Linked DNA regions of Homo sapiens: regions 2, 3, 4, 5 and 6 are each linked to region 1. Evidence: promoter capture Hi-C in human tissues and cell types (Jung and others, 2019). All regions are on one chromosome and are shown on one strand. Each heading gives the region's core, a stretch centred on a gene start or on the middle of the fragment in contact. The rest is flanking DNA. Distances are from core to core; before and after follow the strand shown. Region 1 holds the start of PRRC2B (proline rich coiled-coil 2B). Region 2 overlaps RAPGEF1 (Rap guanine nucleotide exchange factor 1). Region 3 overlaps RAPGEF1 (Rap guanine nucleotide exchange factor 1). Region 4 overlaps RAPGEF1 (Rap guanine nucleotide exchange factor 1). Region 5 overlaps NUP214 (nucleoporin 214). Region 6 overlaps PRRT1B (proline rich transmembrane protein 1B).

What was found. The method cuts DNA at HindIII sites, captures the fragments that hold promoters and counts their contacts. A contact is called where the count stands out against the background at its distance.
Region 2: a contact is called between a fragment that was not itself captured here and the fragment with the promoter of PRRC2B in region 1, in 1 of the 25 tissues and cell types used here (dorsolateral prefrontal cortex).
Region 3: a fragment that was not itself captured here is called in contact with the fragment with the promoter of PRRC2B in region 1 in 1 of the 25 tissues and cell types used here (pancreas).
Region 4: a fragment that was not itself captured here is called in contact with the fragment with the promoter of PRRC2B in region 1 in 1 of the 25 tissues and cell types used here (pancreas).
Region 5: a contact is called between a fragment that was not itself captured here and the fragment with the promoter of PRRC2B in region 1, in 1 of the 25 tissues and cell types used here (pancreas).
Region 6: a fragment that was not itself captured here is called in contact with the fragment with the promoter of PRRC2B in region 1 in 2 of the 25 tissues and cell types used here (bladder and pancreas).

What each region holds. Positions count from the first base shown.
Region 1 is chr9:131,391,940-131,395,973 of GRCh38, forward strand. PRRC2B (proline rich coiled-coil 2B) reads left to right here and starts at 2,147. Exons shown (of 32, transcript NM_013318.4): 1 at 2,147-2,324. RefSeq lists enhancers at 1,371-1,520, 2,647-3,408 and silencers at 1,991-2,180, 2,211-2,320, 2,551-2,840. The HindIII fragment of the contact is 30,479 bases long and covers 1-4,034 here.
Region 2 is chr9:131,643,846-131,647,879 of GRCh38, forward strand. All of the region lies in intron 3 of RAPGEF1 (Rap guanine nucleotide exchange factor 1), which reads right to left. Among named protein-coding and RNA genes, the nearest start is that of RAPGEF1, 94 kb to the right of the region's middle. The HindIII fragment of the contact is 5,406 bases long and covers 1-4,034 here.
Region 3 is chr9:131,618,261-131,622,294 of GRCh38, forward strand. It overlaps RAPGEF1 (Rap guanine nucleotide exchange factor 1), which reads right to left. Exons shown (of 27, transcript NM_001377935.1): 11 at 3,536-3,738; 12 at 791-946. Among named protein-coding and RNA genes, the nearest start is that of PRRT1B, 75 kb to the left of the region's middle. RefSeq lists enhancers at 332-1,298, 3,192-3,261. The HindIII fragment of the contact is 4,787 bases long and covers 1-4,034 here.
Region 4 is chr9:131,600,337-131,604,370 of GRCh38, forward strand. RAPGEF1 (Rap guanine nucleotide exchange factor 1) reads right to left here. Exons shown (of 27, transcript NM_001377935.1): 14 at 3,625-3,717; 15 at 1,725-1,813. Among named protein-coding and RNA genes, the nearest start is that of PRRT1B, 57 kb to the left of the region's middle. The HindIII fragment of the contact is 3,531 bases long and covers 357-3,887 here.
Region 5 is chr9:131,206,513-131,210,546 of GRCh38, forward strand. The region is part of intron 30 of NUP214 (nucleoporin 214); the gene reads left to right. Among named protein-coding and RNA genes, the nearest start is that of FAM78A, 68 kb to the right of the region's middle. The HindIII fragment of the contact is 7,607 bases long and covers 1-4,034 here.
Region 6 is chr9:131,550,480-131,554,513 of GRCh38, forward strand. The region is part of intron 1 of PRRT1B (proline rich transmembrane protein 1B); the gene reads left to right. Among named protein-coding and RNA genes, the nearest start is that of PRRT1B, 7.0 kb to the left of the region's middle. RefSeq lists an enhancer at 936-1,437. The HindIII fragment of the contact is 6,801 bases long and covers 1-4,034 here.

The DNA of each region.
Region 1 (4,034 bases), core at 897-3,396:
CATGTTGGCCAGACTGGTCTCAAACTCCTGACCTCAGGTGATCTGCCTGCCTCGGCCTCCCAAAGTGGTGGGATTACAGGGGTGAGCCACCACGCTTGGCCTTACAAATAAAGAATCTGAGGCTTCAGATAGTTTATTTCTTTTTTGCTTGTTTATTTTCTTTCTTTTTTTTTTTTTGAGATGGAGTCTCACTCTGTCACCCAGGCTGGAGTGCAGTGGCATGATCTCGGCTCAGTGCAACCTCCGCCACCCGGGTTTGAGCAATTCTTCTGCCTCAGCCTCCCAAGTAGCTGGGATTACAGGCGACTGCCACCATGCCTGGCTAATTTTTGTATTTTTAGTAGAGATGGGGTTTCACCATATTGGTCAGGCTGGTCTTGAACTCCTGACCGCATGATCCACCTGCCTCGACCTACCAAAGTGGTGGGATTACAGGTGTTAGCCACTGCGCCAGCCTTACAGATGAAGAACCTGAGGCTCAGTTTATTTATTTAATTTATTTTTTATTTGTTTATTTGCCTTCTATCATTTTTATTAGTTGCTGGGTTTTGAGCACTGGGCCAATTCTATGGCCTTCCTGAAGATGGTCAAGGAACAAAATCGAAAACAAAAATTAGGGTTACATCCTCCCTGTTTTGTAGAGATAGCGAAATATTGAAGACATTGGCAGGGGAATAATGCAGATTTGATGATGTAAAACAGAGTGGCCGGCACTGTAATCCCAACACTTTGGGAGGCCAAGGTAGGTGGATCACTTTAGCGCAGGAGTTCCAGACCAACTTGGCCAACATGGTGAAATCCCATCTCTACCAAAAATACAAAAATTAGCTGGGCATGGTGGCAGATGTCTGTAATCCCAGCTACTCAGGAGGCTGGGGCAGGAGAATCGCTTGAATCTAGGAGTTGGAGGTTGCAGTGAGCAGAGATTGCGGATTGTGCCACTGCACTCCAGCCTGGGGGACAGAGCGAGACTGTCTCAAAAAAAAAAAAAAAGAAAAAAGAAAAAAAGGATAACACTGAAAATGACCATGGATAAAATGTAGGAAAATTCAGAGAATTATAAATAAGGCTATAAAAGTATCCAGAATTCTACTCCCCAAAAACTAAGCTTTGTTCACCAGCCTCAGTTCTGGAGTTAGGCTGAAGTGGGTTAATTTTCCTTCTGGGTCCAGCAGTGTGGCCTGGGGCACATTCTCTCAAAGCCTCCTTTGTCTCACCTGTGAATTAGAACAATAATATCTGCCCCTGGGTTAGGATTAAGTGAGACAAACCACGTGCTTTAGCATAGGGCATGGCCCGCAGCTGGTGCTTAGAGCAACCGTGACTGGAAGAGGGTGGGATGATTTGGGTGCCAGGCCCTAACATTTTTTTTTTGTATTTGCTTTTTGAAATTGCTTTTATAGTTGGTTAGGTGTCTAAAAAAGTAAGAACCCTCCTCCGCTCTCCCAACCTCAAACCACGGAGGTAACCAAGACAGGAGTGCAGTCTCCCGGACCTTTTGTTTTGCAATCACACAAACACACAACACTCAAGAGGAGGGGCTTATTAGTTTTCATTTTGTAAAAATGGGACAAAGTACCCATATTGTGCAACAACCTTGCTTTTGAAATGAAAAAAGTATTATTTCTGCTTCCTTTCCGTTCATATACCGTATACATATTTTAACAAAATCCGGGCTTAGTCTGTTCTGAGGCGCTGCAGTTTTGAAGGGGGAGGGGGCGGAGATCCGGGCTCGCTCCCCCGTCACTGCCCCCTCCATCCCTTCCCCCTCTTTCCGGGCGCCCTTCCCCCGGGCCCAGGCCGGGCCCATGCCCTTCCCAGGCCCCTTCTCTTGGCTCCTGGCCCCTCCTCCGGGTCTCCTCCCCGATCCCCGCTCTGCCCCGTTCTCTCCCGCCTCTCCCGCCGTCCCCGGGCCCCTCCCCACTCCCAGCCCCCTCCCAGCCCCCTCCCGCCGCTCCCCGCCCCTCCCCCCTGGCCCCAGCCCTCGCCCGGCCCCCGGGCCGATCCCAAGGCCGCCGCTCCCGGGAGGCGCGGCAGGGGGCGCTGCGCGGGCCCAGGTTGCGGGCGGCGGCGGGAGGAGGAGGACGAGGAGGCGGGGGCGGCGGCAGGCGGGGGGCGGGGAGCCGAGCGCGAGGGAGCGAGCGGCGAGACAGGCGCCGAGGCTCCACCGCGCAGCGACGAGCGAGCCCGGGAGGAGGGAGGGAGCGAGCGAGCGAGCAGCCCGCGCCGCCGCCTCGCAATCCGCCGCCATCCCGCCGCCCCCGTGCCCGACCGCCGCCCGACTGCCATCGCCCGGCCCGGCCGCGCCCGCGGAACCAGACCAGGTGGGTCGGGGCCGGGGCCGGGGCCGGGGCGTGGGGGCGGCGGCGCTAAGATGGAGGCGGCGCGGCCCGGCCGGGCTTTGTCTCCCGCGGCCGCCGCCGGGGGCCCGGGGGCCCTGCGGCCCTGCCCGACCTTTGTCCGCGAGCGCGGCCGCCGCCGCCTCCTTCCCGCCGGGCGCGGGGCTGCGGGGCTGGGAGGCCGCGGGGCCTGGGGGCGGCGGGCCCGGGCGCGCTCGCCATTGTTGTGGCGGCGCCGCGCGGCCTCAGGCTCGGGCGGGGTCCAGGGGCCGCGCGACTCCCTCAGGGCTCGCCCGCCACCCCCGTACCCCCGAGGCCGGGCCGGGCTGCAGAGGCCGGAGGGGCGGGGGTCCCGGGCCCGCAGCCGGGTCTCGGGGTTCTGGGGCCGGCGTCTTTGCTCCCCGCCCCGCCCAATTGACGGAGCAGCGCGCCCGAGGCGGGATCCTGCGGGGTCGGGCCTTGGGTCCGGGGCGCTGAGCGGCGTTCGCGGGGCCGTTCCTGGCGCGGGGTGGGCCGGGCCCCGGCGGCGCTAAAGTTGGCGGCTGGGGGAGGGAGGCGAGCGGCCGCCCAGTCTCGGTGTGAGTGCGGGAACCAGAGGGTTATTTTCGAAATGCTGAATGCTCCATGCTAAAAATGTTTAATAATAAACAGGATGTCGCCACTCGGGGCCTGCCAGATGGGGTTTTTTTTTTTTTCCTCCTCTTTTGCCTCCCCTCAACCCCCAGGAGAGAAATTCAGCCCTGTTGAAACTGTGGGCCTCTGAAGAGTGGATTTGCCTTAAGAGGTGGATTTTTTTCCTTTTTCTTTTTTCCTCCTTCTAAATATCGTGGGAGGTCGGAGCCCACCTTTAGGCAAGAATTGGAGGTGTTTTCAGTGGTGAGCTTGAAGGAAGTGGGAGAAGGGGGGCTGGGGAGTGTCTTTTGCTAAATGGCTTCCTGGGAGAAATCTTTAAATGCCTTTGGTTTACAGGACTGTTAAACTTTCCCTAAGATTTTTTTTTTCTTTAAGGTTTAGTGTGCATTTGATGTGGCTTTGTACAGTGTCATCCAGTTTGGTTTTTGTAACCAATTGTGTGCGGTCTTAGCATGGTTTTTCCGAATCTCGCTGCAGCCATTTAGTCATGTCTATGCACAGCGCTGTGGTGTAAGGTGGGACTGGGGAGGCCCAGGCATTGGGGTGCAGATCCTGCTTCTTTCTTCCGTAAACCTAGTGACTCTGGGGCTGTCTGAGGCTTCATCTGCATAAATCGGGGCGTGCACCCTCCACCTGGCAGGTTTGGGCAGCGGTGAAGGGCCTAGCAGAGGGCCTGGCACAGTTAGTGGTTCCTCCTACGGTTGTTGGTATAACTGCTGTCAAGTCCTAGGACAGACGTGAGCCCCTTGTGGTGCCACCCATAGAGCCAAACTGTGCCCATGGATGCCACAGGTGCTGGCCTAAGGCATGGACAATACAGAAGGAATTCAAGGCCCAAACATTAGTGGGCGCTTATACAGTGCTGAGCCTCTCGGGAGGCAGGGATGGGAAAAAGTAGCATTTGGAGGTCTCTAGAACTTAGTAGACCCGGAGTGTGTGGCAGTTGGTCAGTTTAAGGCAGGGTTAGAACAGTACGAGATGCTCAGGACAAACAGACGCCCAAGGAGTCCTGCCTTCTGAGGATAACTGCTTTCCTTGGGGATTGGCAGATAATCATCTGAG
Region 2 (4,034 bases), core at 823-3,322, 250 kb after region 1:
AGATCTGAAAGACTGTGTAAGACTGGTCCAGGGCATGAGGGGCTGAAACCCATTCCCTCAGGACTCCTCACTAGGTTCCCAGATTGTTCACCCCACTGAAGCCCCCACTCAAGGAAATGATATGCTATTCCTCAAGGGCCTGGAAGCTCCCAGGGCTAGAAGGGGCAGGAAATCTGGGGAGAAAAGGCAGAGAAGCCAGAGCAGATGACCGTGATTCTCAAGATTCAATCACGACTCATGCAGTGGGCGCTAGCAGCATTCATGGTCCCTCTGCTCCTGAGAGAAGCCCACCTGAGAGAAAGGGAAAATACAGAGCCCTGCGCTTTCCAGTGTTTAAGCCACAACCCCAAGCTTTTCTCCCTGACCGTGGGAGGCCTTGGATCCAGTTGGTGGGTCTACACACCCCTTTTGTTCTTCTCTCCAACTTCCCCTCTACTTGCCCTGATGTCAATGATCCAGGTCTCAGCTGGCTGGCAGGAAAAGGAGGCTAAGAGTAATCTACAGAAGTGGAGTCTCTGAACCTGTTCTGGTTTGGGAGGCTGTCCTTTAAAAAAAAAAAAAAAAAGAGTAGTCTACAGAATGGATAAATCCCAAAATGGACAGTGTACTCAAGTAGTCGATTACATGTCTAGTGCAAATTAAGAGGGGTGTGTATGAGGCAAACAGCCACCTGCAGGATCTCAGAGGTCTAGAGGATATAAATAAAAACTGAGGGCAAGAAGATAATTTCTAGAAAAAGGTGATTTAAACAATATACAGACAAACAAATGGTAGAAATTAATAAAAAGTGCTTATGATTCTGAATACTAGCTCTTTTCTTCTAAAATAGTGCCGATTGGCCAGGTGAAGTGGCTCACACCTATAATCCCAGCACTTTGGGAGGCCAAGGTGGGCAGATCACTTCAGCCCAGGAGTCAGGACCAGCCTGGGCAACATAGTGACACACCGTCTCAATTAAAAAAATAAAGTTTAAAAAAAGGTGCAGAATATCATTTTAAATATAAAAATGTTCAATAGTAGAGGCTTTTATTTCATGGGAATGTCAAAAGAAAAATATATAAATGGCTACTTTAGTCAGACAATGCACAAAAGACCCAGTCATTTCTTTCATTGAGTCTTTCCCACAAGGTGTCCTGCAGACTAGAAGACACAATTCTCCCATGGTGGGGGAAGTGCCCTTCCTCATCCCCATCCCTGGGTCCTGCACCCTGGCTTTATTTTTCTCTTTTCACTACCTGACAGATTTGTTTACGGTCTGTTTCCAAGAGGCTGGGCGCTTACTTTTCCACCTCGTGGACAAGAGCTCTCTGCTTCATGTCATCTGCCCGGGGCAGGGAGGAACCTGAGTGTGAAGGAGTCGCAGTGCCGACAGACCTCAGATGTGCCTAAAGCCATGGTCAACCAGGCAAGAAGAGGACTATGACAGTAACACTGCCACCTTAGCACATCAGAAAGTGTTAGAGACCAGCAATGATGAAACTTGCTGAGGAACAGGAAACATTTTAAGAAAATGTGTCATCAGGTCACACAGGGAGAAAGTGGCTAATCTGAAGATGGGAGGCACTCGAAAGTGGCAAGGCACTTCAGAGCAGAGAGTTTTTCTGTCATTGCAGAGAGATCAAATCAGCTGTTTAAGAGTCAGGCTGTCCTGGGCTCCTCCTAAAGGAGCCAACAATGTAGCACAGCCAGGCTGCCTCCGTGAACTCAGATTCTACTCCCAGAATTAATGGCCTCTGGGTGTTGTGCATTCTCCAGCCTTTCAGCTGTCAAGCTGGGGATCCTTGTGAATGCAGCCAGCAGTGAGAGTTCACAGCCACACAGCCACATCCAGCACTGGCTCGGACTGGGGACTCCATGCCTTGGCTTTGCTGAAGCTGCCTCGCTGCATAACCCGAGGGCAGGTGCGTTCACCTGCGCACCCCTCCTGCTGTGGGGGATGGATTGCCATCATTGGTCCACATAAGCCTGGAAACTAAATGAGGCTGTCCGTGTCTGGGGATGGCTTAGAGACAAAGCCAACTGCTGGGCTTTGGGCTTGTCACCCACAAAATGGGGAGAATAACATCTGCCCCGTGTAACTAAAGAGGTGACTGTGGGGGACTGAATGAGAAAGCATATGAAGTGGTTCACAACATTTAACAGGCACTATACCAACACCAGAGACCATATACCTGCCAGTAATAAAGCAGAGAAAGAGGGCCTAGGATGGGAACATCTGAAAGGGAAGAAAGAGGCCAGATCGTAGCTACCACTCATCGGGGACATGGAGGCACCCACTGTGCTATGGATTTTATATAGGCTATTTTGTTTAAAGGTTACAACCACCCTGTGAAGTGGATACTATTATTTCACAGGTGGGGAAACTGAGGCTTAGTGGGACGTGGGGGAGGTTAAGCAACTTGCCTAAGGCCACACAGCTGTAGTGACAGATATGGAATTTGAACTTGGTCTGTCTGAGTTCAGAGCCTGGAGAGATAGAGAGGAGAATAAAGACCAGATCAGAAATGTGCTGAAGTTAAAAAGTTTACTTGAGATCCCCTGGTCAAAAAGATCTCATTTAACAAACGAGTAAACTAAGACCCCGATGGCAGAGATGGACATAAAATCCCCATCGCCTTTCCTGCCCCGTGGGCCATATTCATTTCTGACGCCCAGGCTGTGGCTCCACAGCCATGTGCTGCCACAGGAGATGGCGGGGAAGAGGGTGAGGAAAACTGGCCCTCCTCTCCAGACAGTTCTCTCCCCACAGCCGTGCCGCAGCCGGGACACCCGACTTGCTCTGTCACTCCTTGTCCCATCTGCAGCCTGGGTGCCTCCCCTCTCCACAGCAACATAAGCCTCATTTCCACACTATAGGACAGTGTACCCTGAAAATGTGGGTAAAGCCAGGGAGTGAGGGGGAGGGCAAGTCACAATCAGTATAATAAAAAACTAGAATTGCAGGATTAAAAAAAAAATGGCAATGCAACATTATTCCTATTAGTCCAGAACAGTGAGGCCTAGCAAGAAGACATGTCGAACACAGACATTGGTTACAATGAGAGCACCAAATCACCACCTGCCACCAGGCTGTCCGGCAGCAGCATCTCCCTGGAAGAGCTGAAGGGGAAAGGCTTTCAGGAATCCACCCAAGAGCACTCGGATCCAATCTCTGTCCAAATGCCCTCAGAGATGGGGCATTAACACCTCCCAGGACCCCCTGCTCACTGCTCATTGTAATTATACCTTTGGACACCCAGTATATGGCTAAATTTCCTCTACAACTTCAACACTCTGCAGCTCACTGCTAGACTTGTTAAAAGGTTGCAAAAAAGTTTAGAAGTTCATCACAATGTACTTTGAATTTTTAAATTCACTAAGAAGATGCAAGAGACTGCTAATGTGGAATCAGTCTGGGAAGACAACAGAATATAGTGAGAAAAACAGATTTTGATCAAGAAAATGTGCACCAGGGCCAACACTGTCTGCACAGTGGGAATAATAAAAGCTTCCCCACACAATTATGGTGAGGAGTAAATAAGACAGCATGTCTGAAACCACCCAGGACAGGGCTGGGGCGAGAAGGAGCCCTCGGGAAGTGGCAGCGAATCTGAATCTGTACTTTCATCTCCCTGCACTTCCATTTCCCTCGTATCTGAGCAGGGAAAGCCATGCATATGACCTGAAGTAAAATAAGAATGTACGTAATCACTCCCTAAGTGGTAAGAGAGCTAATGAATAATCAACGAGGGCAGCAGATGACAGACCCACTGCAAGGTTTCTTGGACATAATCCTCTAAGTCCACGTACTCTGGGAAGTTTCTCAATGCTTCTGGTTCTGTCCATGGGCCTCCACGAAGCAAGAGGTTCGCATTTACTTGTCCCACGCAGGTGGCTTGGGACAGAACACAGACATCCAACCCTTCCTAATGAGCAATGATGAAAAAGGGGTAACATTCCTTCTTGGGTGAAGATCACACCTACAGCTCCCTGCTACAGAACAGGTTTCTCAGCCTTGGCACTACTGACATTTTGGGGCAGAGAATTCTTTGTTG
Region 3 (4,034 bases), core at 562-3,061, 230 kb after region 1:
TGGAAGTGACAGACTACATGGGTCACAGCCAAATCAGCCCCATTGTCTCAGCTCAGGTCCCAGGGATGTCAGTGAGTTCAGCCAAAATTGGCCAAGCCTGGGCCAGAGCAGCACACCCATCCTGCTACCCCCTGTCCTAAGCAGTGACAAATGCTCACTATTATTTTAAGCCACCAAGTTTTGGGTGGTTTGTTATGCAGCAAAAGCAAACTAATACATCCCTGAGAGTCAAACCATCCTGCGCTAGTGAAGCCTGCTCTCCTCGACCTGGCTTTCTACGTGAGGAATAGTACCACCCATCTACTCATCCATCTCATCTATCTTATCTATTTATTTTGAGACAGGGTTTCACTATGTTGCCCAGGCTGGACTTGAACTCTGGAGTTCAGGTGATCCTCCTGTCTCAGCCTCCTGAGGAGTGGGGACTACAGGTGAGTGACACCACACCTGGCTATATTCCTTTTTAATCCTGGAACACAGAGGGCTGATCCAAGGTCCAAAGCGAGATTGGGATAAAAAGGCTAAAATGTCTCTGTCAGTTTATGCCAGACTGGTGATGCTCCCAAGGTGGCCACTCACATTTCCCATGCCTGCCCCTGCCTCACCTGGATGCCTCATGGTCTTTAAGGCCCCAGAGAACCAACCATTCATAGCCTTCCCATCTAGGTGTAGGGACCCGCAGAAGGGCAGGGGCCGCGACGGGCAGCAGAACACATGGCTGAGGCACACGCTTCCAAGGAACGGCCCTGTTCACGCGTTTCCAAGTAAAGAACAGCAGGGAGCAACTCACCGAGGGCACGGGCAAGCTGCCGTGCCGGCTGAGAAAGGAGTTAGAGACGGACACACTGAGGCCCTGAGCGGCACTGCCGTCCTCGGGGGTGAAGGCCACTTTAGTTTGCTGGACACAGTGGGAGACAGAGGAGAAGGAAGAAGCAGCACAGGAGGCCTGCTGGACAGAGGGGAGGAGAGAGAAGGCAGGGAAGGAGGGAGAGAAGCAGAGAACAGTCAGGTCCGTGCAGGGAAAGGCCGTGGAGGTTGCTCTCCACATCCTCTAACAGACGTTCTGGAGAGGGATGGCTTCTGGGCCCAGTTCAGGGACTAAAACCAGCTGCCGAAGGCCATCTGCATGAAAGGGCACCCTCCTTCATTTCCTTACACTAGATCCTAAAAATTGTGTCCACTGGAAGCAGGTTGGGTGGAAGGAGGACGAGGGGGCTGGAGCCACACAGAACTGGGCTGACTCTGGGCTTGGAGCTGCTCCTCTGTGGGGAGTGGATCCATGTGTCATTCACACGTCTTCAGAACTCAGACGGGGCTCCGGCAGCCTGGGTTTGAGTCTGGACCCTGCCATTTCTCACCCGTTTGGCCTTGGGCACTACTTAAAGGTCTCCGTGCCTCAGGTTTTCCATCTGTAAAATGGGGATAACCCTAGTGTCTCCTGTACAGGGCTGTTGGGAGGATGAAATGGGATGATACGTGTGAAGCACTTGAAATATTGCTTACCACACTGTACATGGGCCAACAGGTGTGTGTAATGAGCACCATTTTTGTCTGTGAAGTGTGGATAACGCTTCCTGCATCTGCATTTGAGAGAGGGTGTGACCAGCAGCTGGCAGGACCTGTCAGGTGGTATGCCTGGGCTGTCATTAGGATTGGGTGTGGCTCCCAGGTCTTCTGTTTCTAGCTGTGGGCTTGGATTAAGGTTCGCTGGCTCTGTCTGCCTCAATTTACTTATAATGGGGATGCCAGGAGCTGTGGCAGGGACCATGTAGAGCCAGATGAGAGCCCTGGTGCTTACCTGGGGAGGTGTTCAACACAGATGTTCCTAACAGGCCTCCGGGGGCTGAGCTCGCCACTGCCCTGCAGGCGTGGTAGAACAGGTTCTGATTCCACGTGCTCCCTAGGGGTGTCTCCCCAAATATTCAGAAGCCTGTGGACTCCACAGTATGGAGAAGATGCCCAAGGATGGCAAATGGGCCGAAAATATTTTCAATAAATCTGGCTCAGCAATGGCTTTTTTTTTTTTTTAGACAGGGTCTCACTATGTTGTCCAGGCTGGTCTTGAACTCCTGGGATCAAGTGATCCTCCACCTCAGCCTCCCAAGTAGCTGGGAATATAGGCATGTGCCACCACCACTCCTGGCTCTCGGCAACAGTTCTAACCAAACATTTTAGGCAAGGGGTCTCTAAATGAGGCATTTATGTTTCCATGGTGGGACCCTTTTTGAAACATCTTCAGAGCAATTGAGATTCACATTCTCAATTGTGTCTGTGGGACGGGCAGGGCAGGTGAGGATCTGAGACTCTGAAAATGGCACGTGCGACACGGCTAACAAGTGGCAGGACTGGAATTCAGGACTCCCAACTCCAAGCTTGGCCTTTCCTCTACTGGACATGGCCACCTCTGAAGTGGCTGAGTGTGGTTTTTGAGTGGAAACAAAACAGCTTGCTTGGTTAGCCACAGCCCACTGAGTATAGGAAGGCTCAGGAACTCCTGGGACTGGGCTGAGCCCCAGGTGATTGATTATACGGAGTAATCCAGGGACATTTGTCCTCCAGTCTGCAGCTGCCTCCCAGAAGAATCAGATGGCCCCTCATGTCCTCTCGCAATGGATAAAAGATGGCCCAGTGCACACCAGTCGCCTCCTGGTAGAAGCCACCAGACTGGCCAGCACACGAGAGCAGCAGCCCAGGCAGCTCTGAACAAGCCTGGAGCTCCCTGCTGGGGAGCTTCCTCTTCCTGGGGAGCATGGCTGGACAAGAGGCTCAGATCTTCAAACCTGACTAGGGCCCTCCATGTTCATTAACTGGCAGCAAAGGGAGAAAGTTTGGAGGGATGCCACAGGTACCCCCGATCTGCTCACCCTCCCAGTGCCTGGGCAGTTCCAGAGCCTCATGGGGTGCCCACGGTGGAACAGCTTGCCTTCTGTGCTGGCCCGTGCTTCCTTACATGCACAGGAGTCCTTAGCACACGAGTGTTTTCTAGAAGAGGAAGGTGCCATGTCTGAAACAGAGTGGCTCTGTTTAAAGCCATCCTCCACTTCAATGGCACTTGTTTTCCTTGGGCCCTCCCCGGCCAAGGCTGGGTTGTAAGTCACTCTACACAGTTAGGCCCATTATGCCAATCAAGTCCACAGATGGCTGTGCACAGACCATGTCCTGTGCTTTGATTGAGTCCCTCCTTTCTGGGAGGTCTATGTTGAAGCCAAAGAAGAAAGAAAAAAATACAAGAGACTGTCAGCAGAGAGAGCAAACACCCTGAGTACAAGCCTGTCCCTGCTGCGCGGGGCTGCTGTGGAAAAGAAAGGTCCCTGCACCCCAGGGTGGGGAGGTGGTGGAGTGGGCGCTGGGCTGCTGGTGAGCATCTAAGGAGGAAGTAAAAGCATCTGTGTGGGAGATGGTGCCTTCCACGCCCAAAACCAGGGCCCTGCCACAGCAGGGAGGAGGGTTAACCCTGCCCCCAAGGAGGGTCATTCTGGTTCCTAGAGACCTGCTAGGATCGGAAGTTCTAGTCACAAGGGAAGGTGTCACTCACCAGCTGCCGCTGCTTGGGGGGTAGGGCGGGCGGCGGGGCCAGCTCCTGCACGGAGTCCACCCCACTGAAGGAGTCGCTGAAGCCGTATACCTCCATGAGGAGCTTGTTCTTCTGCTGGTAGATGTGCTCGTTCTGTGGCGTCTGGTAGAACATAGAGGGCTGCGGCTCCGAGTAGTCCTCCAGCAACTGCATGTAGGCCAGCACTGTGAAACAAGGGAGAAAGCTGCAGCGAGGCCGGGGGAGGCCACATCAGGGAACCCCTCCCCCCATTCTTCCCACAGCAGCTAGGGGGCTTTCCACTGAAAGCACCTCAGAGAGGGACGAACAGACGGAGCACGGAGGACTTTTCGGGCAATGAAATCACACTCTGTCTGATGCGCTAACGGAGGAGACACGTCCAGACCGGCAGACGCGCAACACCAATGGGGAACCCTAATGTGAACTGGGGACTCAAGCGAGGGCACATGGCGGGTGCAGGGATGGCAAGTCTCAGCTACCT
Region 4 (4,034 bases), core at 872-3,371, 210 kb after region 1:
TCCAGTGAAGCTAGTGGCATACCCACGAGCTGCATTTGCTTGGCCCACACACTCTGCCCCAGGTATTAACCTAGAAACCACACCATTCCTGGCTTCACACCTGGGGAAAGCTCAGTCTGGGCAGACAAGTCAGAGAGACAAGTCAGAGAGCACAAGAGTGGCCAGGAGGCAGGCTGGGCAGGTGGCCCTCTTCAACAGGTCCCTATGCAATGCCTTCTCATTTCTTTTTCTTTCTTTTGCTATTTTTATTAACTGCCTCTTCAACCATTCATGCTGAGCCCTGATAATGACAAGTGGGCACTCCCTTGCTCTAAGGTCACCAAAGACCCCAGAGGTGGCTAAAGCTTGACCTAAGGAGGGAGGAAAAGCTTGAACACATGGAACATTTCATAGAGAAGGGGAAGTCAATGTGAAGTTGCAGGTGGGAGTGCCCATTTGCAGATCCTACACATCATATTTCACAGGTGCATACTGGGGAAATCTACTACGTATTTCTACACTTGGTCAGGTTTGGTTTATGCTAATATTGAAAAATGTGGCCAGGCATCATGGCTCACGCCTGTAATCCCAGCACTTTGGGAGGCTGGGGCAGGTGGATCATGAGGTCGGGAGATTGAGACCATCCTGGCTAACATGGTGAAACCCCGTCTCTACTAAAAATACAAAATAAATAAATAAATAAAAACTTAGCCGGGCATGGTGGCACATGCCTGTAGTCCCAGCTACTTGGGAAGCTGAGGCGGGAGAATCGCTTGAGCCCGGGAGGCGGAAGTTGCAGTGAGCCGAGATCGCGCCACTGCACTCTAGCCTGGGCGACAGAGTGAGACTCCGTCTCAAAAAAAAAAAAAAAAAAAAAAAAGTTATAAGACATTAAAGAGCTGTAATGACTAAATGCAATGAACAGCTCCTGATCTTGGCTGCAAAAAATTAAGATATACAAGACATTCTTGTTAGCAACATCACATGCACACATATGTCTAGAAATGTCCCTGATAACAAGTTTGTAAGTGGAGGGGGTGTCTTTTACACTCCCTATCAACTTGAAAGAGGCCAAGACCAAGGGAGGTTGGCCTGGGATTTGAAAAAGAAAAGACAAGGCTATCGTGGGTAATTTGTAAGGTAGATAATATAGGTGCAAACAATCAAGAAGTAATGGCAAACTACATGTGAAGGCCTTTGCAGGGTGGGGTTATTAGTGATTTTTCTTGCTTTCTTGCAGTTTTCTATGCTTTTCAACAGTTTCTATCCTGAGCTTGTATTATTTGAGAATCAGAAAAAAAGGAAGAGGGCCAGGTACAGTGGCTCATGCCTGTAAGCCCAGCACTTTGGGAGGCTGATGTGGGAGGATCGCTTGAAGCCAGGAGTTAGTGACCATCCTAGGCAACATAGCGAGACCTCGTCTCTACAAAAAACTAAAACAATCAGCTGGGCGTGGTACTGCATGCCTGTAGTCCCAGCTATCTGGGAGGCTGAGGTGGGAGGATCGCTTGAGCCCGGGAGTTCAAGGTTATAGTGAGCTGCAATTGTGCCACTGCACTCCAGTCTGGGTAACAGATCAATACCCTGTCTCTAAAAAACAAAAAAAGGAAATAAGGAAAGAAGGAAGAGTTTCAACTTGAAATACCCTCAGGCCTAGGGGCTAGCTGGGAGAGGCTGCTCAGGCAGGCCTCATGAGTGGGCGCACTGCTCTCGGGGGACCCAGCTCCTCTGGGTCCACTTCCTACCTCTCACTGCCGTCTCTGCTGTCCTTCCCAGGGACGCCGCTGACCGCTGAGGGATCTCTGGGATGTCCGTCTTTCCCAGCCGGTGGCTCCTGGAAAGAGGAGTGGGTGCTGAGTTCTGGACAGGGGCCCTCTGCGGGGCTGCTCTGTCTTCCCAGCATTCCTGCCTGCAAGTGGCTGTGGAGTGCAAGTTCCTATGGAGCAATCTCAGATGTGAACAAATTAAAGATGAATGCCGTTAATCACAGGAAACACAAGCCCTCAAGACTAGCATGTGGCCTTTGGAGAAAGTGAAAGGTGCCACTATTTGTCTCATCTGTAAGCTGCCAACCTAGGCAAAGCCACCTCAACTACCTCCTCAAAGAAGACTGTCATAGCCACTCCCCCCGAGCACAGCCAGGGACTGGGCTCTAGGCTGTGCCCACTTCTCCTCATTTGACTTCGTCAGTGAGCTAACACCATCGTCCCCACTCCATGCATAGAAACAGAGGCCAGAAGTCAAGGACCCTGCTCAAGACCACACAGCTCATAAACAGCAGAGCTTGGATTTGAACCCAGGGCTATCTACCTGCAAAGCCTGTGCCCTTAACCACTGGGCCCTGCTGTCGTGAACCAAACTCTGCTGATTTAAAGAAGTCCTCAGGGCTGCAGTGCTCAACCGGGTTCAGTCCCCAAAGGGCCAGCTCTCAGGCCCTGGGGTGCCAGTCCCCTCTTCCTCCGGCAGACTTGCTTCCTCCTGGGTCCCTGGGCTGGCCCTACTCAGTGACAACATGGCCCGCCAACATCCCTGGTCTGCTGCTGAGCCTGATGGAGAACTGGGGCAGGACAAATACAGAAAGAGTGCTTCAAGGCAAGGAGCCAGTGAGCCCTGGAAGTGTCACAGTGGAGGGAGAGAGCCATGCGAAGCTGGCCTCTACCTGCACGTGGACTTCACCATGGGGAGGCTGAGCCGGGGGGTGCCAGATGCACATGTCAGCAGAGGAGACAGCTCCCATGGACTGGGTCAAATCCCACTGGAGTGGACACTCTTCAATGTTCTATAACCTGCTAATGTCTGAAACAGGGCTGGCTCTGGGTGGGCCTCTGAACCCCTGTGGGGACCCTGCTGAGAGAACCACCTGAACGGGTGTGACCAAGCTCTTCACGGGTGGGGGCCCGCCCTGGGGTGGATCACTGGGAGTCTTCCAGCCCTCATGGGCCTCCCTTCAAGGAACCTGTCCCACCTGGGCTCATGGGGGGAGCAATTTCTGAAGCTTTTGAACTTGCTCATGTTTGGCTGAAGCAAAATGTGGAAAGTGGATTGCTCAATAGAACTGCTGTACCGCGATGGTCGGGAGCTGGGGCAGCAGCATCACGAGGGTGCTGACGTCGGGTACCTTGTGGCTCCCTCAGGAGGGGGTGTGCATAGTCATGGCAGGGGCTATGGGCCAGACTCACCCGCTTCCTCAGAAGCAGTCAGTGTTGGAGCAATGGGACATGCTGGGGAGGGAGATGAAGGTCTGAAAGGCCCTATGGGAAGAAGAGTCCCTCCCTCTGCATGAGGGACAGAAGATGAAGCCAACACCAGAAGATAAGGGAGGAAGGAACCCCACAGAGAGCACTAGATACACAGCCGGGGCCCGTGCCACGCTGGTCCCAGAGATTTCTAGATGACCCATCTGGCCAGGCTCTGAGGAGTGCCACACGCACTGAAGCAGGAGCAAAGGGCAGACCTCCACCTGGAAGCCACGTCCTCTCCAAAGGGCCGAGCTGGCTCCCAGCAGCCTGCAGGAGCCCAGTCTGCTGGTGACTAGGAGGGGGCTCAGCCCAACAGAAGCAGGTGCGGGGGAAGCGGCCTCGGGAGGGCAGAGCCCAAGCCCCACCAGGCCAGGCCACATGCAGGAGGCCGCCCGAGGTTACTTACTCCTCGAGAGGGAGCCAGCTCCTCGCTGCTCTGGCCAGAGGAATACAGATTGACATATTCACCCTCACCAGCTTCCTCACTGGCGTTTTCACTCTGGGGGAGACAGGACGAGAGGAAAGACACATGGGCCAGGCCCTCCAGCCGGCCCTCACAGCTGGCCAGGGGATGCCACAGCCTGCACTCTGGTCTTCCCAGGTGCAGAGAGCAAAGCTGCTTTTGCCACCTCTTGCCTCTGTGCTAGAGGGGATCCAAGTCTCCTGCTGCTGCCCCTCCAATGGTGTCTGGGGCTAAATCATCCTGGAGAGATGGCCCCACTGTAGTGGAGACAGCAGGGGTCCCCAGTGTGGCGGGAAACGATTATGGAGGGAGAGAAGCAACACATCAAGACAATCCCACATACTGGGGAGTGG
Region 5 (4,034 bases), core at 953-3,452, 190 kb before region 1:
CAGGTAACTGCAGCCTTGATCTCCTGGGCTCAAGCAGTCCTCCTATCAGTTCTCCAGAATAGCTAGGTCCACAGGTGCACCACCACGCCCAACTAATTTTTTCAGTTTTTTGTAGAGATGGGGTCTCACCGTATTGTCTAGGCTGGTCTGTAACTCCTGGCCCAAGTGATCCTCCCACCTGGACCTCCCAAAGTGCTGATGAGATTACAGGCATGAGACACCATACCTGGTCTCATAGTAGAATATTATCCAGCTATGAAAAGGAGCAGATTTCAGCTCCATGTATAACTAACAAGCACAATGTTGAGCCAAAGAAATAGAAAACATCACTGTGATAAACTCCATATTGTTACTTCCCCTTCCACTCCGTATTCTTCCACCACGGAAATTATGTATGCAATTGGAAGGGCCAAAGATTGAAATCAAGGTTTTTTCTATGATGGCAGGGGCCTTATTGTTTTTATTGATTGCTGTATCTCCAATGCTTAGGACTATGTCTGGCACATGATAGGCATTGTGGAAATGAATGAACTTTCAGGTAGCAGAAGTATCCTCAGAAAACTCTAAAGATGCTAGGCAGATTCTGGCTAGGATGTAAAAGAATATAGAAAACCTTCACTGCCATAATAACACCAAGAAAAATCCAGATGATGTAGAAGTCACACTTACTCTGGCAGTATTGGAATTATTTACTGCTGTATAACAAATTGCCTCAAAACCTAGTAGCCTGCAACAGCTACTTATTTATTATAGTCTTGGATTCTGTAGGTCATAACTTCAGATGGACTTAGTAGGGATGGCTTGTCTTCACAGTATCTGTGATCTCAGCTGGAAGAAGGGAAGACTGGAGGCAGGAGTCATCTGAAGGCTCACTCTGATGTCAGTGGTTGGCTTGGCTGTTGGCTCAGACCTTAGCTGGAGCTGTTAGCTGAACACCTACATTTGGCCTATGTAGCCTGGGCTTCCTCACAACGTGGTGGCTAGGTTCCAAGGAGGAACATTCCAAGAAAGAGGAAGAGCCATGCTGAAGCTGTATAACCTTTTATGACCTATCCTCAGAAGTCACAGAACATCACTTAGGCTGCATCCTCTTCATCAAGGCACTCACAAAGTCCCATCCAGGTTCAAGAGGAGATACAGAGGCCGCCTCTTGCTCTAGAAGAGCATATGTGACTAGAAGTATTGCTGTGATCATCTTTGGAAAATATCTGTCATAATGGGACCATTGAAGAGTGGCAGAAAGCCTTGTTGAACTGGTTTCCAGAGAGTGGAGCCCATCATAGGTGTGAGCACTGTGGCACAGCAGCTGCTGGGGGCAGATGCCAGGTCTGGGTTTGAGCAGGTAGTAGAGAGGACTTGCCAAAGACTGAGAAAATGTACTGGCTGGAGAAGGAGCTGTTGGCAGTGATGGGGGCAAGCAAAATAAATGACCAGTAATTACATGAAAAGGTGATCAAGTAGCATTAAACTAATGAGGGAAATGAAAATCAAAACCACAATTAGATAAGATACCACTTCACACCCCCTAGGATGGCTATCATTTAAAAAGTAAAAAATAAAAATAACCAGTGTTAGCAATGATACAAAGAAATTAGAACCCTCATACATTGCTGATGGGAATGCAAAATTGTGCAGCTACTATAGTTTGGTGGTTTCTCAAAAAGCTAAATATAGTACTTCTACCATATGACCCAGCAATTCTGCTCTGGGGTAGAATACCCAAAGGAATTGAAAAAAAGGGATTCGAACAAATACTTGTACATCAATGTTCATTGCAGCATTATTCACAGTAGCCAAAAGGTGGAAACAACCCAAGTGTCAAACAGCAGATGAATGGATAAACAAAATGTGGTATATACATTCCATGGGATATTTTTCAGCCATAAAAAGGAGTGAAGTTCTTGGCCGGGTGCAGTGGCTCACGCCTGTAATCCCAGCACTTTGGGAGGCTGAGGCGGGCGGATCACGAGGTCAGGAGATCGAGACCATCCTGGCTAACACAGTGAAACCCTGTCTCTATTAAAAATACAAAAAATTATCCAGGCGTGGTGGCGGGTGCCTGTAGTCCCAGCTACTCGGGAGGCTGAGGCAGGAGAATGGCATGAACCCAGGAGGCAGAGCTTGCAGTGAGCCGAGATCGCGCCACTGCACTCCAGCCTGGGCGACAGAGCGAGACTCCGTCTCAGAACAAAACAAAACAAAAACAAAAGGAATGAAGTTCTCGGCTGGGCATGGTGGCTCACACCTTTAATCCCAGCACTTTGGGAGGCTGAGGCAGGCATATCATGAGTCAAGAGATGGAGACCATCCTGGCCAACATGGTGACACACCGTCTCTACTAAAAACAAAAATTAGCTGGGCATGGTGAAGCTCGCCGGTAGTCCCAGCTACTTGGGAGGCTGAGGCAGGAGAATCGCTTGAACCCAGGAGGCGGAGGTTGCAGTGAGCCGAGATCACGCCACTGCACTCCAGCCTGGGCGACAGAGTGAGACTCCATCTCAAAAAAATAAATAATAAAAAGGAATGAAGTTCTCATTCATGCTACATATAGATAAACTTTGAAAACCATATGCTAAGGCTGGGCGCAGTGGCACACACACCTGTGATCCCAGCACTTTGGGAGGCTGGGATGGGCAGATTGCTTGAGCTCAGGAGTTTGAGACTAGCCTGGGCAACATGGCAAAATTCCATCTCTACAAAAAAAAAGACCCACAAGTTGGCTGGGCGTGGCAGTGCATGCCTGTAGTCCCAACTACTAAGGAGGCTGAGGTGGGAGGATCACTTGAGCTCGGGAGGTCAAGGCTGCTGCAGTGAGCTATGTTCCTATCACTGCACTCTGGCCTGGGTGACAAAGTGAGAACCCTGTCTCAGTCAGTCAAATTTATTTATTTATTTAGAGACGGAGTCTTGCTCTGTCGCCCATGCTGGAGTGCAGTGGCACAGTCTCAGCTCACTGCAACCTCCGACTCCCAGGTTCAATCAATTCTCCCACCTCAGCCTCTCAAGTAGTAGCTGGGACTACAGGTGTTCACTGTCACACCTGGCTACTTTTTGTATTTTTAGTAGAGTTGGAGTTTCACCATGTTGGCCAGGCTGGTCTCGAACTCCTCACCTTAGGTGATCTGCCTGCCTCGGCCTCCCAAAGTGCTGGGATTACAGGCGTGAGCCACTACACCTGGCCTCAGTCAGATATAAAAATTAAAAACTCAGATTGGGATCTGAAAGACTTGTAAGTGCAACAATAATTTATTCAGCATACATATCCTCCAGCTCTCCCCCGCTAATCCTCCCCAACTTTGCAAAGAAAAAGGAACTAAAGCAGCACTAAAAAGTAGAAAGAACTCACAGGGTCTTACATTCTCCTGTTTTCTGGAACTCTTGTTTGAAAGGTGATACTTCCTCTTGCCTCCCACCTCAGATACTTACAGACCAATAACCTAAAACCTAAGTGGAGACTGTTGGGCTAACCAGAGGTGAGCTCAGTCTTCTTAAATCTGTGACTCTGTTCCAGATCAACCCTTAGTGAAATCTGAATAATTATTTCCTCACTTTAATCAGACGAAATGGGAGCTCTCACTCTCTAGGAAAAGCATTAATGTTCTTCAGTCACCACTGTTCTTCCATAATACAAACATACAGAGCAACCAAAAAAGAGAGTGACACCCACAATTAAATTTTTAAAATCAGCAAAAACCAACCTATAGATGATTCAGATATTGGAACTGGAGACAGACTTTAACTGTCATGTTCATAGGGCTTATGGGAAAATAGTTGAAACAGTGGTTGAATAAGGAATCTCAGCAGAGAAATGGAAGCTTAAAAAAACCAATGGAAAGGCCGGGCACAGTGGCTCACGCCTGTAATGCCAGCACTTTGGGAGGCCAAGGCGGGCGGATCACGAGGTCAGGAGTTCAAGACCAGCCTGGCCAACATAGTGAAACCCCATCTCTACTAAAAATACTAAAATTAGCCGGCATGGTGGCGCGCCCCTGTAGTCCCAGCTACTCGGGAGGTTGAGGCAGGAGAACCACTTG
Region 6 (4,034 bases), core at 1,396-3,895, 160 kb after region 1:
TTCCTCATCTGTTACCTATCTCGGCATAATTCTCATGAAAACACACGTGCTCTCTCCCTGCTGATCGTGTGCAGCTAATCTCCCAAACCCCAATCCCTTCTATAAAACAACAACTCCTTTCCTTCCTAGGCATGGTCAGTGCAGTCAGAATTCTTATGCAAGAGTCGGGACTGCGCCCCGTAGCCTTTCTGTCCAAACAACTTGACCTTACTGTTTTAGCTTATCCCTCATGTCTGCGTGCAGCAGCTGCCGCTGCTTTAATACTTTTAGAGGCCCTCAGAATAACAAACTATGCTCAACTCCCTCTCTAATCTTTTCTGGCAGGGCTATGCTGAACCTCCTTGGGCACTCAATTCTGTCCTGGGTCCTCCCAATTCTTAGTCATTTAATACCTGTTTTTTTTCTTCTCTTATTCGGACCTTGTGTCTTCCGTTTAGTTTTTCTTTTTCTTTTCTTTTTCTTTTTTTTTTTTTTTTTTTTTGAGACAGAGTCTCACTGTGTTTCCCAGGCTGGAGTGCAGTGGCGCGATCTCGGCTCACTGCAAGCTCTGCCTCCCGGGTTCACGCCATTCTTCTGCCTCAGCCTCCCGAGTAGCTGGGACTACAGGCACCCGCCACCATGCTCCGCTAATTTTTTGTATTTTTAGTAGAGACGGGGTTACACCGTGTTAGCCAGGATGGTCTCAATCTCCTGACCTCATGATCCACCCGCTTCAGCCTCCCAAAATGCTGGGATTACGGGTGTGAGCCACCGCGCCCGACCTGCGTTTAGTTTTTCAATTCATACAAAACCGCATCCAGGCCATCACCAATCATTCTATACGACAAATGCTCCTTCTAACAACCCCACAATATCACCTCTTACCACAAAATCTTCCTTCAGCTTAATCTCTCCCACTCTAGGTTCCCACGCCGCCCCTAATCTCGCTTGAAGCAGCCCTGAGAAACATCGCCCATTATCTCTCCATACCACCCCCAAAAAATTTTCGCTGCCCCAACACTTCAACATTATTTTGTTTTATTTTTCTAATTAATATAAGAAGACAGGAATGTCAGGCCTCTGAGCCAAAGCTAAGCCATCATATCCCCTGTGACCTGCATGTACACATCCAGGTGGCCGGTTCCTGCCTTAACTGATGACATTCCACCACAAAAGAAGTGAAAATGGCCTGTTCCTGCCTTAACTGATGACATTACCTTGTGAAATTCCTTCTCCTGGCTCATCCTGGCTCAAAAGCTCCCCCACTGAGCACCTTGTGACCCCCACTCCTGCCCACCAGAGAACAACCCCCTTTGACTGTAATTTTCCTTTACCTACGCAAATCCTATAAGACGGCCCACCCCATCTCCCTTCGCTGACTCTCTTTTTGGACTCAGCCTGCCTGCACCCAGGTGATTCAAAAGCTTTATTGCTCACACAAAGCCTGTTTGGTGGTCTCTTCACACGGACACGAGTGAAACCCGCCACCACACCTGGCTAATTTTTGTATTTTTAGTAGAGACGAGGTGTCACTGTGTTGGCCAGGCTGGTCTGGAACTCCTGACCTCAACTGACCCACCCGCCTCGGCCTCCCAAACTGCTGGGATTACCGGAGTGAGCCACCGCATCCAGCCATGTTCGCCTCTCTAAAAATGATTATTACTGTGATTTATCTTCACTTTACAGATGAGGAAATGGAGGCATGGAAAGTTTGTCACATGCCACTTCCCCCTTTTAGAGAGGACAAGGTCTCACTCTGTAGTCCAGGCTGGAGTGCAGTGGTTCAATCACAGCTCACTGCCCCCTCCTGTGAGGAGGCCACAATGTCTGGCCAAGTGTGTTTACCTTGACCTCATGGAGCATGGTTATAATGGCTGCTTTTTCTGAAAATTCCAATATCAGGTCATCTCAGGGTTGGCATCTGCTGAGTGTCTTTTCCTTTGAGCATTGGTCACTGTATGGCGAACAGTCTTGGATTGTGTCCTGGACATTGTGAATAGTATGTTGTGTAGATTCTTGGTCCTGTTACAATTCCCTGGAGAAGGTGGGTTTGTTTGGTTTCAGGAGGCAGTCAGCCTGCGTAGTTTCAGGCCAGAAGTTCTGTTTCACCTTCTATGAGTGGCATTTCCAAACTTGGGTCAGTTTTCAGAGTTTTTTTTTAGGCTGGTCTGGGTTTGTCTCCTGCACATGCAGTTTGGGGGGGAGCCCAACCTCTAAGGTTTTTTTTTTTTTGAGACGGAGTCTCACTCTGTAGCCCAAGCTGTAGTGCAGCGGTGTGATCTCGGCTCACTGCAACCTTCACCTCTGGGGCTTGAGCAATTCTCCTGCCTCAGCCTCCCAAGTAGCCGGGACTAGACACTTGTGCTGCCACACCTGGTTAATTTTTTTTTTTTTTTTTTTGTATTTTTAGCGAGACGGGGTTTCATCATGTTGCCCTGGGTGGTCTCGAACTGCTGAGCTCAGATGATCCACCTGCCTCGGCCTCCCAAAGTGCTGGGATTATAGGCGTGAGCCATTGTGCCTGGCCATTCTCTAAGTTTTGACTCCACTCCGCAACCTCCCTGCTTTTGTTTGTCTTTCAGTGACCTCAGATGCTTCCTTTTTGTATTTTGTCTAGACTTTTCAGTTGTCATCAGCTGGAAAGACATGCTTTTAAAAAATGGTGCTAAATATGTATAACATACGATTTACCACTTGAACCACTTCTAAGTGTGCGATTCAGTGGCATTAAGAACACTCACATTGTTGTGCAGGCATCACCACTATCCATCTCTGGGACGCTTTCTCATCTTCCCAAACAGAAACTCTACACCCTTGAAACACTAACTCCCCAGCCCCAGCCCCTGTTAACCTGGAGAGAAAGGTTTTTAAAGCTTCTGCTTACAAAATGTTTGTCAATGTGCCATTGTGCAAAGCACGTCACATGGTCAAGCCCAGATCCAAGGGGTGGAGAAACAGAGGGAACATCACAGGTAAAGGTGTGGAGGTATAAACAGCGTGGCAGGTGTATGGGGTGCAGGGGCCATGAGTGAGCCCCTAGCTGCTGGGAGGGGGTTGAGGCAGGACACGCCCAGGGGCTCATCATTCCCTGCCATTGGGATCACTCTGGCAAGGATCCCTGCCTCCACCCGTGGGGGACTTCAGGAAGGGTCCTCCCACCCCCACTGAGATGTCTGTGTGATGTCTGTTTCACTCATCCCTCTGCCTTTTATAACCCTTAAGGACACTTAGGAAATGGACCTCCAAAGCCAGACCCCTGGCTCTGGGCTGCCCACTTCTGCAGTGAGGCCTGAATGCCCACGCAGGTCAGGGGAGGCCACTCTGCGATTCTCTTCCAGGGCCTTCCTTGTACCCTTGCCTGAGGCCCTCTGGTGCTCAGCTGGTCGGGATGCTCTCAGGAGGTGCAGCCTTAAGAATTTGTTGGGACCTGACCAGGCACCACCAGGACCTATCGTTGGGTGCTGAAGGCCAGGGCCTGGGTCGGGAGCAAGGCAGCTGGGCAGCTTTGAGGCTCTGAGCCCTGGCTTCAAGCTGCTGGGCCCTGTATATTCTGGTGTCCATTCTCAGTGTGCATATGGCCCTTAGTGACCTCCTGGCTCCACCATGTTACTCTAGCTACAGTTTGGCAGCTCCTGGGCACCTCACCCCTCCCCTACAACTCCAAGCCAAGAATCTAATTGGTTCAGCTCATCTCCTCAGGTAGGCGTCCCCTTCATTGGAGGTGTATCTCAGGACAGCCAATCAGGGGCTTCCCTGGGCGGATTATCCTTTTCTGGTCCAATTAGCTTTGACATAAAGGCCTTAGTTGGGGGTGAAACTACCTCCCAATAGAGGCCATCTGCCAAGGAAAGGGGGTGGGACAGTGCGGGGAGGGGCGGGGTCAGCAGCCTGGGTTCCCACCCAGATGAGTCGCTCAGTCTGTGTGACTCCAGCAAGGCAGGTGGCCCCTCTGGGCCTGTTTTTTAGTCCCTTTGCGTCACGATCCTATGAGGCCCAGCTGCAGAGGGCTGGGAGCTTGGTTCGTGGGAACTGCGGGACCAGCGACGTCCCACCTA